Linked DNA regions of Homo sapiens: all the other regions are linked to region 4. The links are contacts of gene promoters, found by promoter capture Hi-C in blood cells and fetal thymus (Javierre and others, 2016). All regions are on one chromosome and are shown on one strand. The core of a region is centred on a gene start or on the middle of the fragment in contact, and the rest is flanking DNA. Distances in the headings are between cores, read along the strand shown. Region 1 has its middle 150 kb from the start of PTGER4. Region 2 has its middle 200 kb from the start of PTGER4. Region 3 has its middle 220 kb from the start of PTGER4. Region 4 holds the start of PTGER4 (prostaglandin E receptor 4).

Evidence for each region. Contacts are between HindIII fragments. The CHiCAGO score rates a contact against its expected background, and 5 or more counts as called.
Region 1: a contact is called between a fragment that was not itself captured here and the fragment with the promoter of PTGER4 in region 4, in 2 of 17 cell types (naive CD4 T cells and activated CD4 T cells). The highest score is 5.3, in naive CD4 T cells.
Region 2: a contact is called between a fragment that was not itself captured here and the fragment with the promoter of PTGER4 in region 4, in 3 of 17 cell types (activated CD4 T cells, total CD8 T cells and naive CD8 T cells). The highest score is 7.4, in activated CD4 T cells.
Region 3: a fragment that was not itself captured here is called in contact with the fragment with the promoter of PTGER4 in region 4 in 1 of 17 cell types (fetal thymus); the score reaches 5.2 in fetal thymus.

What each region holds. Positions count from the first base shown.
Region 1 is chr5:40,524,789-40,527,488 of GRCh38, reverse strand. No RefSeq gene overlaps it. Among named protein-coding and RNA genes, the nearest start is that of PTGER4, 150 kb to the left of the region's middle. The HindIII fragment of the contact is 452 bases long and covers 1,032-1,483 here.
Region 2 is chr5:40,476,315-40,479,073 of GRCh38, reverse strand. No RefSeq gene overlaps it. Among named protein-coding and RNA genes, the nearest start is that of PTGER4, 200 kb to the left of the region's middle. The HindIII fragment of the contact is 2,229 bases long and covers 301-2,529 here.
Region 3 is chr5:40,458,826-40,461,525 of GRCh38, reverse strand. No RefSeq gene overlaps it. Among named protein-coding and RNA genes, the nearest start is that of PTGER4, 220 kb to the left of the region's middle. The HindIII fragment of the contact is 9,349 bases long and covers 1-2,700 here.
Region 4 is chr5:40,678,601-40,681,300 of GRCh38, reverse strand. It overlaps PTGER4 (prostaglandin E receptor 4), which reads right to left and starts at 1,386. Exons shown (of 3, transcript NM_000958.3): 1 at 823-1,386; 2 at 1-350. The coding sequence starts at 307. RefSeq lists an enhancer at 1-368 and a silencer at 1,504-1,723. The HindIII fragment of the contact is 6,362 bases long and covers 1-2,700 here.

The sequences.
Region 1 (2,700 bases), core at 8-2,507, 150 kb after region 4:
ACACACAGCTCAGTGCATAAGGCACAAATATTCAACTTCATAAAACTTGTTTGAATTTCTATTTTCAGATTTGGGAAGCTACTGTCAAGGTTACTTAAGAAGTAGGACCCAGTGTATTTCCATGTGAAATTCATAGGCACGGGAGATGCCAGATAATGACAATGCTCTATTTTACTAAGAAGCACATTTTACTGAATAGAGTAAGCAATCTTTCCAAGGGAGAAATTCATCTGAGATGCTTCACAGTTATTAAGCAAAATACCCGCTCAATCATGTGGTGTATTTTCTATGGTTTTTGCTTTATTAATTTCAGGTGTATTTTGATTATAAAGACATTTTATGCATTTTATAATCTCTTATGTTTTCCAATAAATACAAACCTGGAGTGCTTTTTTATCTCTTCGCATTCTTTTAGAGGTGTGATGAGTATCAAATAAGGCAATAATTTTGAAACGCTTAATAGAAAATGTCACCATTGATTGTTATTATTGTATTATAAATAGGTATTCTTTCTTGAAAAGATGGCTTAATTTATTACATCATGATTTGACTAATACATTCAAATTAACTTTGTCTGAAATGATTTTATAAAATCCTCTACTTTTGAAAAAATAGATTTATTTTTTAGAGTAATTTTAGACTTACAAAAAAATTGAGGTGATAATATAGAGAATACCTACATACCCCACACCAGTTTCCCCTATGATTATCATCTTATATTAGTATGGTACATTTATTACAATTAATAGACAGTATTAATTGATTCACTATTATTAACTAAAGTCCATAGTTCAGTCAAATTTCCTTGGATTTTACCTGATGTCCTTCTGTTCCAACATCTCATCTAGTTATCACATTACATTTAGTTGGCATGCCTTCTTAAGCTTCTCTCAGTTGTCACGGTCTCAGACTTTTTTTGTTCTCTGACCACCTGGACATTTTCAGGAGTACTGGTCAGGTATTTTGTGGAATGCCCACTGTTAAATTTGTCTGTTTTTTCATGATTAGATTGAGGTTTTGGAGAGGAAGCTTACAAAGATAAAATGATGTTGTTTTCATACGTCAAAGGTTCATACTGCACTGTTGATGTTGATTGTGATCACCTGGTCAAGGTAATGTTTGTTAGGCCTCTCCACTCTAAAGTTATTCTCCTCTGGCCTCTTTCTTGCTGTGCTTTTGGTAAGGAAGTCACTATGTGTGGCCCACACTTAGGGAGTGAGGAGTTATGCCCCCACTCCTTGCTGGTAGATTATCTACATAAATTATTTGGAATTCTTCATGGCAGATTTGCCTCTTCTCCCTCATATATGTATTTATGCAATCATTTATTTATATCAGTATGAACTCATGAATATTTATTTTATACTTTGTGTTGTAATTGAATTCTACTTTATTTGTTGCTTAAATTGTTCCAGCATTGGCCATTGGGAGCTCTTTCTGTGGCTCCTATGTCCCTTTGACATATACTAATCAAAGTGAAGCTTTTTTCGTTTTTTTTTTCTTTTTTTAGCACTTTCTTACTTCTGGCACTATAAGATGTTCCAGGCTTATCATGTATATTTCTTGCCCTTCTCCTAGAATCAGTCATTTTTTCCAAGGAGCCCTGGTTTCTTTTATCAGAAAGTAGGGGTAGAAACCAAAATTCAAGTGCTAAGCGTACTCATCATTACTAGGGCATTATTGCTTTTAGGTATTCTCAGCTGACAGAGCAAGGAAATATACATGTGCATACTAACCCATGTATATGCTTATATTCATAAGTATTTCTATATGTAAGCGTAGGCATGTATATTAAGCTAAACATGAGATTACACTGATTGCTCCAACTCTAGTCAATTTTCAAAAAGTCTCACTGCGCTAAAAGAGCTTCACTAGACTAAAAATGCCTACGTGCATCACCTTCTCTCCCCGAGCTCCTGGAGGCCAGTTATCTTTTTACTGTTTACTTTTCAGAATGTTATATAATTAGAATCATACAGTATGACTCTCTCTACTTTTTAAGATGTAGTAAATAATGACCCTTAAGCTCATACTTTTCTAAATATATTTCCAACTACAATTTTCTGAAGTACATCTTGTCATTTATATGCATTCAGTGTGAAGAAATTTAAAAAGTCTAAAGCACACTTCACTGTTAAGTTCTTTTTATTTCAAATATTGCATTTTAACTTTTTTTATTTTTATGAATACATAATAGGTGTGTATGTTTGTGGAGTATATGAGATAATTGCATCAGGGTAAATGGGGTATCCATTACCTCAAGCATTTATCATTTCTTTGTGTTACAAGCAATCCAATTACACTCTTTAACTTATTCTAAAATGTACTATTTATTTTCATTGACTGTAATCACCTTGTTGTGCTATCAAGTGAATAAGATCTTTTGATCTTATATATGTATCTAACTATATTTTTGTACCCATTAATTATCCTCACATCCCTCCCCCTTTCCCAACTACCTTTCCCAGCCTCTGGTAACCATCATTCTATTCTTTATCTCCATTAGTTCAATCATTTTCATTTTTAGCTCTTGCAAATGAAAGAGAATATGCAAAGTTTGTTTTTCTGTGCTTGGTTTATTCCATTTAGCATAATGACCTCCAGTTTCACCCATGGTGTTGCAAATGATGTAATCTCCTTCTTTTGTTATGTCTAAATAGTACTCCATTGTGTATATCCATTCATTTTATCCATTTCCTT
Region 2 (2,759 bases), core at 166-2,665, 200 kb after region 4:
GAAGCTTGGCAGGGCAGAGCAGTCGAGAGGCTAGGCTCTATAACTGGGGTGCCTTGGCTTGAATCCCAATCCTACCTCCTTAGTGGCCAAGTCATCTTTGAAAAATCACTTAATCTCTGTGCATCTGTTTCTGTGTCTTATAATAGGGATAATAATAGTATCTGGTTCAGAAGGTTGTTGTGAAGATTAAAATAGTTCATATATGCAAAGCCTTTAAAATAGTGACTAGTACTACATAAATGTTAGCTATCATTCCTATCATTTTTAGGATCTAGCAGAGCTTTGTAGGGAGTAGAAGCTTAATCGTGGCCATTAATTAACTTGATTCTGCAGAACTGCAGACCCGGAAGAGCTTTCTGATGTCATGTGGCCCGTGTTTCCTAAACTTGCTTATGTGAAGACTTTCCTGGGTCACTTGTTAAAATGCAAACTCCTGAATACTAACTAAACTTAGTATTCAGTAACTGCTAAACATACTGAACCAGCATCTGCAGGGAGCAGTCTGAAAATCTGTATTTAAAATAAATGTCCTACAAGATACTGATGATTAGGTAAGTTCAAGTTGGAAACTGTAGTATCTAACTATTATCTTTCACAGAGAAAGCTAAGCACTTGGGAGAAGTGGCTCACTCAGTGTTAAAGTTAGTGGTGGAACTGGGACCAGAACCCGGGTCCCTGTCCTTGGTCCTGTGTTATTCCCATTGCATCTCTTTTCTCTGTGATGTCTCTGGTGCTTCTGTCCAAGTGCCCGAGTTTGGCCGGATAGAAGAAATAGTTTCAGGATGACTTTACCAAAGTATTATTTGGCTGTGGGCAGAAATTATCTGCCAGAGGGGTACAAGAGTTCTCTCTTCTTTAGGTGGATTTTGAGCTCCCATATTTATTCTTGAATTGTGCTTCTAGGATAATGATCTCTGGAAACCTGCATGCCCTGAGTGATCTCAAAGTCTGGTAACTGTTCTTGCGGTCCTGTTTGCACAGGAACAGAAATTCATTTCAAAGTGCAGCCAGTGCCAACAGGGGAGAGTGGGCAGAGAAATCAAATGAAAATGCCAAAACGCTGACTACACGGCCAGTTTGCATCATGTGAACCACTTTGGAGCCTGAGGACAGAAACCAAAAATATGCTTCTGTTCAGAGGCGGCTAACAGCACTAGTGTTATTATTGTTATCATCATCATCACCACCATCATTCGTCCATAAATTTAAAAGTAGGTAGCTGGACTGTGTTTTTTTTTCTAGGAGTTCTGCATGAAGTTCAGAGCTATGATGAATTTTAGAGAAATAAGTGTGGAGGCATGCATGGTCCCATAACTTAGCCCCCTCAGCTGGAACCACAGCTCTCTTGCCCCCAATTGTTCAGTACAGCCTTGTCATCACAGTGAGAACAGTTTTACACACTCAGGGCTTGTTCTAACAGTAAAGAAGCCAAAAAAGAAATGTGTAAAGTAAACTGATGTTTAAGAATTCTGGTAGGGAATTAGGATTCTTTGCTGCAGAAGAGAGGACTGAAGGCTGAAGCAAGGACAACATGACGGGGAGGGAGGTGACTGGGAAGTACAGCCCTTTATTCCTGGAGAGGAGGTGAAGTCCTTGAACTTGAAGAGATTTAGAGATCAAAATATAAGATGTAATTGGAGTCCAGGTCCTCAGGGGAAGTGCCAATTTAAACTCTGTGGGTGGGATTGGACCTTACAGGCAGAAGAAGAAATTAAACTGAGTACCTTAAAAACAACAACAAAAAGCACCACCTGTGTATATGTCCATTTCTTTATTCACTCAGCCTAGTTCTGCTGCTCTGTATAACAAATCCAGCTCCTCCTTTTACAGGAGAAGGTGGTGAACCTCAGGTGGAAATTCATAGTTTTCTTTTGAAGGCAAAGTCTTTGTTTCTAATCTGACTCTTACAGAGCCAGAAGCTCCTTTTCCAAGGCAGAGCTGAGGAGCATAGGGGTGACTCCCAAAGTGTGGCAAAGGGGAGATTTCACCTGTTCTAGCCATACTCTTGTTGTTATCCAGCAAAAATTTGTTTTAAACTTCTTTAACAATTTACTTACATTCAACATGGCCTAAATTATAAGGGAAATCAAATGCAGGATATAGAATTCTATGTTTTTTTGCTAAACAATCCTGGACTAAGCAACATTTTCTCACATCTACAATGCAGTTATTACTGATGTTCATGTTGATGACATTTAGGCACTAAAAGGTTCCAGAATGTTTTCTTATTTATTAAGCAATATCAAACTATATTGATTCTAATGTTATTGTGGATTAGTAGATATTCAGAAATAAAATGAAAATTGGAGCTTCCATGATAGTCCCCTTTAAATTCAGATAAAGAATTGGAAATGTAGAGTAATTAAATGACTTGCCCAAAGTCACACTATCTGTTGAGTAGCAGAGCTGGGATTTGATTTATCTTTATATTCCTGTTACTGAATTTGGCCAGTTCATAGAGGTGTTTCTTCTCTAGTAGCTTGAATTTGTGATCTACTGTGTGGTCAGCACTAACCTATATTCTAAGCTTGGGTGTGTGTGTTTAAGAGCAGAACAAATATAGAAAATGGTACCAGTTCTCCAAATACACGCAAGCCTAGTCAAGGATATGGGACTTACACAGGTGAAACAATAGAGAATGGTACAATTCAGTGGTGCTTCCCATGCCTTCATGGGCATGAAAATCACCTGCATGTCTTGTTAAAACACAGATTCTGGTTTAGGAGCTGGAGATTCTGTGTTTCTTACAAACTCTCAGT
Region 3 (2,700 bases), core at 3-2,502, 220 kb after region 4:
CCCTATCAATGAGTTATATATTTTTGCATGTTTTCATGATTGTGATTATCACCTTTTTGTCTCCAGATGCAGGACTCTTTTCAGCATTTTTTGTAAAGTCAGTCTAGTGATAGATTTCCTTATACTTTTGCTTGTCTGGGAATGGCTTTATTCCTCCCTCAGTCTAAGAAATAGCTTTGTTGAGTATAGTATTCTTGACTGTCAATTTCTTCTTTCAGTACTTTGAATATATCATTTTATTCTCTCCTGACCTGTAAGGTTTCTGAAGAGAAACCTAATGTGAGTCTAATGAATATTCCTTTATATGTGACTTGGTGCTTTTCTCTTGTTTTAGAATTCTTTTTGTCTTTGACTTTTGATATTTTGACTATTTTTTACCTTGGACAGTACCTTTCTGATTGAAATATAGTTTGGGATCTTTGGACTTCCTGGATCTGGATGTTTATATCTGTCTCCAGATTTGGGAAATTTTCAGCTATTATTTTATTAAATAGGTTTTCTATGCATTTTTTCCATTTTTTTTCATTCTGGAATGTCTATAATGAATATTTGTCTACTTAATGGTGTCTCATAAGTTTACAATCTTTTAAGAGCTATTTTCCATTCTTATTTTTTCTAACCAAATAATTTCAAATGACCTGCCTTCAAGTTCAGAGATTCTTCTGTTTGATCAAATCTGCTGTTGAAGCTCTGTGTTGTTTTTTTATTTCATTCATTGAATTCTTTAGTTGCATGATTTGTTTTTTTTCTTTTTTATATCTGTCTTTTTGTTGAATTTCTCATGCATATGTTTTTTCCTGATTTTGTTGAATTGTCTAACTGTATTTTTTATACCTCATTCAGTTTCCTTAAGATCATAATTTTGAATTCCTTTTCTGGTTCTCCATTAATTTTCCTTTTATTGGGGTTTGTTACTAAAAAGTTTTCCTTTAGTAGAGTTACATTTCCTTGCTTTTTCCTGTTTCTTATGTCCTTCCATTGAGTGGAACAATCACCCCTTCCAAACTTTCCAAAGTTAACCCCAAAGTCTTAACTAATACTAGCCCCAACTCAAAAGTCCAAAGTTCAGAATCCCATCTGTGAGCCTGTGAAATCAAGACTAGTTTTTTTTTTTTTTTTTTTTTGAGACGGAATCTCACTGTCGCCAGGCTGGAGTGCAGTGGCGCGATCTCAGCTCACTGCAAACTCTGCCCTCCGAGTTCAAGCGATTCTCCTGCCTCAGCCTCCCGAATAGCTGGGATTACAAGCACCTGCCACTGCACCCGGCTAATTAAGACTAGTTATTAACTTCCAACATACAGTAGTGGTTCAGGCATAAGACAGACACTTCTATTTTAACAGGGAGGAATAGGCAAAGAGAAATGAGTAACAAGCTCAAGCATGTTAGAAACTGAGTAGGACAGACATTAAATCTTTAAGCTGAGGAATGATTTCTTTTGACTCCATGTGTCACCTTCTGGACACACTGGGATGGGGTTTGGGCCCCCAAGGCCTTAGGCAGTCCTATGGGCTTTGCTTGGTGCAGCCCACGTGACTGCTTATGCAGAATAAAGTCCTTTGCCTAAGGCTTCCTTTGGTAGATGTTTCATGCTGCTGGTGGTTCCATAATTCTGAGATCTCAGTGGTAGTCCTGAGTTCCTTAGGCATTACTCTAACAGGGACTCTTGGTGGCAGCTCCAACTTCACATTTCTCCTCTGCTTTATTATACCAGGGATCTTTACAGTAGCTCTGCCTGGGTCTCTAGGCTTTCAGCAACATCTTTTGAAATTTGGGTGGAAGTTGTCAATCTTCCATAGCTCTTGCTTTCTGCAAGCCTGCAGAATTAGTACCACATGGATGTTGTCAAAATTTATAACTTGTACCTTCTGGAGCTGCAGCATGAGCTGCACCTGAGGCTTCTTGAGCCATGGCTAAGGCAGCTGCAGAACTGCTGTGCTGGGGTGTGGGTAGCAGAGTCCCAAAATGGCCCTGACAAGTGAATCTGTGTACTCTGGGGCTGTTCCTTGACACCATTCTGCTCTCCTAAGCCTGTGATGGGAGTGGCATCTTCAAATATCTGGGCAATATCTTTGGGGGTATTTCTTCCATTGTCTTGACAAATAGCACATGGCTGCCTTCTGTCTCTGCTAATCTCCTTAGAAAGTGGTCCATCAGCTACACTCCGTTTCTCTCCTGAAAACATTTTTTTCATTCTTTTTGTGGTCAAATGGTTTTCCAAATTTTTCTGCTCTGCTTCCTTTTTAACTATTAATTCTGTCTTTAAATTATTACTTTGCTCTTGTATCTCAGTGTAAATGGCCAAAGGTAACTATGAATGCCTTCTATACCTTACTTAATTTTTTTTTGTGCCAGATATTCTAGTACATCTTTCTCAAGTTTGGACTTCCACAAAGACCTCAGTCACAGACAGAGTCCAGCTAAGTGCTTTGACAATTTATAACAAGAATGGCCTTTACTTGACTTTCCAATATCTTTTTCCTCAGTTTCTCCTAAAACTTCATCACAATGTTTCCTGCTGACCACATTTCTATCAACATTCTGATCATGACCACTTAACCATTCTCTAAAGTGTTTAAAACTTTCCCTGGTCTTGTCTTCCAAGCCCTCACCAGAATCTGAGCATTTACTAACCAGCTGCTTCAAATTGTTCCAGCCTCTACCCATTATCCAGTTGCAAAGTGACATCCCCGTTTTCACAT
Region 4 (2,700 bases), core at 137-2,636:
TGAAGAAGAGCAGAATGAAGGTGCTGTACTCGCACAGCGGCTGGCCCCCGGGCCATTGGCCCTTCATGTACGTGGCGATGGTCACCGGGCTCACCAACAAAGTGCCCAACAGGTCGGTGACAGCCAGCCCACATACCAGCGTGTAGAAGGTCGTCTCCTTCTGCTCCTTGCGCGACTTGCACAGCACCACGATGGCCACCAGGTTGCCCACCACCCCGAAGATGAACATCACCGCCGGGATGGTCACTGGGCTGTTCAGCCGGTCGGGGCTCAAGGAGGCGGACGAATTGACCCCGGGAGTGGACATGATAGTGGCTGGCGGTGCGCAGCCTTGGAGTGCAAGGCTGGGTCTGGGGATGGTAGAAGAGAGACAAAGCTGCCGTGAGCGGAAATTACCACTTGTAAGGTGTTAGACCCGCGCCCGAGAAACGATACACTGATAAGACAAGGGGAGCAACTCGATCCTACTTTCTGGATTGTAGCCACTTACCAACTGCGGCCACCAAAATCTCCAGGCTCGCGATACGTCCTGCCAACAGCACACTCTTGCTGACATTAATATTTATAAACTGATTTTCCCATTCCTCTTCCTCCCCACAATCCAACTCACTCCATTGCCAAGATGAATAAGACCCATCTCAAGGGAAAAGTAGCTCGCTAGTGCTATTCTCGATAGATTCTGAATCAATAAAATGCTCACTGAAAACAAGTTACAAAAGCAATTTGGAGAGCGCGCTCTTCCCTTCTTGGCTCTCTTCGGCGAGGGCCGCATCCCTGCGTTCTCTACCCGTTGACCCCAACGTCAGCCCAACGCCATCTCACCTGTAGCGGCAGCAGCGGTGGCAGCCTCACGAGCCCCCAGGGTCAGCCCTCAGATGTCCTGGACCCGCCTCCAACCTGCTTTCACCTTGTCCTGCTCAGTCTGGAAACTGCCAAATCTTCGGCTTCTCAAAGCCGGTCTCAGTGGCTGTCGATTTTTGGACACCGAGGTCAGAGTTGCCAGCTTTCAAAAACTTGGGAAACAAGAGGTGCAGCGGGATGGGTCAGTGAAGAATGGTGCTGGATTTCTTACTCGCTATTTTTTTTCCTTCAAAGACGAGTCCCAGCTTTGCAGTGCCCGCCGGTCTCGTCTGCGGGAGGACAGCGTTCAGGTGTGAGGCTGTGCGCGCAGGTGGCGCGGAGCCTTGGTCCCCAGCTCTGGCTGCCCTCCGCCCCAGCCACGGGCAGCACGGGCGGCTACTGGAGTTTGCGGCTGCCGCTGAGGCCGCTCCTGGCTACCTGGGGGCGGCTCGGGGTCCACTCTGCCAGAGGCTCTGGCCTGGGGCTGTTCATCTTCCTCTCGGGCTGCCGGGCTTGGAGCTCCGCTCTCGCCTTTCCACCCTCTGTACAAACTTTTCTCCTCCTCCAAGTTTCCCTGGCGGAGGCGGAGGCAAACCGCGCGCTGCCCGGGCGCCCATTGGCCGGATTGGAAGGGGGCGGAGCGCGTCCTCCCTGGGCGCCGCAGGGAAGACTGGCGGGGGGCGGTGTCTGGGCTGGGGCGGGGCTGGGCGCGCGGGGTGGGGCGGCTCCCGTGGTTTTCACGCCCTCGGAGGTGCGGAGTGGGAACTCGGAGGGGACCCTGGGAAGCCCCGGTGCTTTCCCCGGCGACCGCTTAGCCGCTCCTGAACTCGGCTTCCAGTGGGGCCACCACTGAAACCGGCGACCGTTTCCGCCTCGCTGCCTGCCGCTCGGAGTGTACTATTTCTTGAACCTCCTGTCCGCGGGCCGCAACATCTAGATCGTGGAAGAGAGGGCAGTTGTTTTAGGATTCTACCTAGGGTTGGCCGAGAAAGGAGAAGAAATACGGTGTCTGCGCTAGCGCGTGCGCCCCGGGGTTAGACTTGGGTGCGCCCAGCGGACGTGGTAGGTGGGTGGGTGGGTGGGTACCAGATTGGGCGGGGAAATAACGAAGAATCCATCCTCTCACCATAAAAGGAGTTGGAGTCAGTTGGCAGTGCCCAGACTGCGGGCTGCGCTTGGTCGGGCACCCCAGGCAAAAAAGAAAAAAAAAAAAGAGAAAGAAAGAGGAGGAGACAGTGATTGCAGCCTCTCCCGGCGCAGGTGGCAGAGCCTTGCGGCTTTGGAGAGAGGTGGAGCCTTGGTGAGGTTGGGAGGACTGCCTAACTGCGATCTTTTTCTCCATTCTTCCTCCTGGGAACTTCTCCGCCCTGAAAGGGTAGCGTGAGCTTCATGCCTTCGGCCGGCCGTGTTATACTCGTTAGACCCAATTCACCATGAATCCTTTGAAAGACTAGTGGAGAGTGAGAAGGGGGTTTCAAAGTCACTGGAGTAAAGGAATTCTCCAAGCACCACCTCATGATTAATTCTTGGAAAAGCCTGTTTGCGCGGCCCTTAGAATCATTTTGACTTCTTGTCTAATGGTGAAGTTTTTCTCTGTAATCCTTCTACTCTGTTTTCTAAAACCAGAACTAAAAACCTAAAAAATTGTAAAACTTCATGGTGTAATTAAAACCCCTTCACCATTTTTTTTAAGTAAGATTGTGTGGCCTTATTGCACAATTTAAATTCCTGGAAAAACCTCTTCCCATCTGCAGTGTACAAGCATTCTAACATATTATGTCTCCTCACAGGGTAAGTAAATAACTGGATTCTTTTATGTGATAAGCAGGTACCCATTTCTTAAATGTTATTTCGTGAACG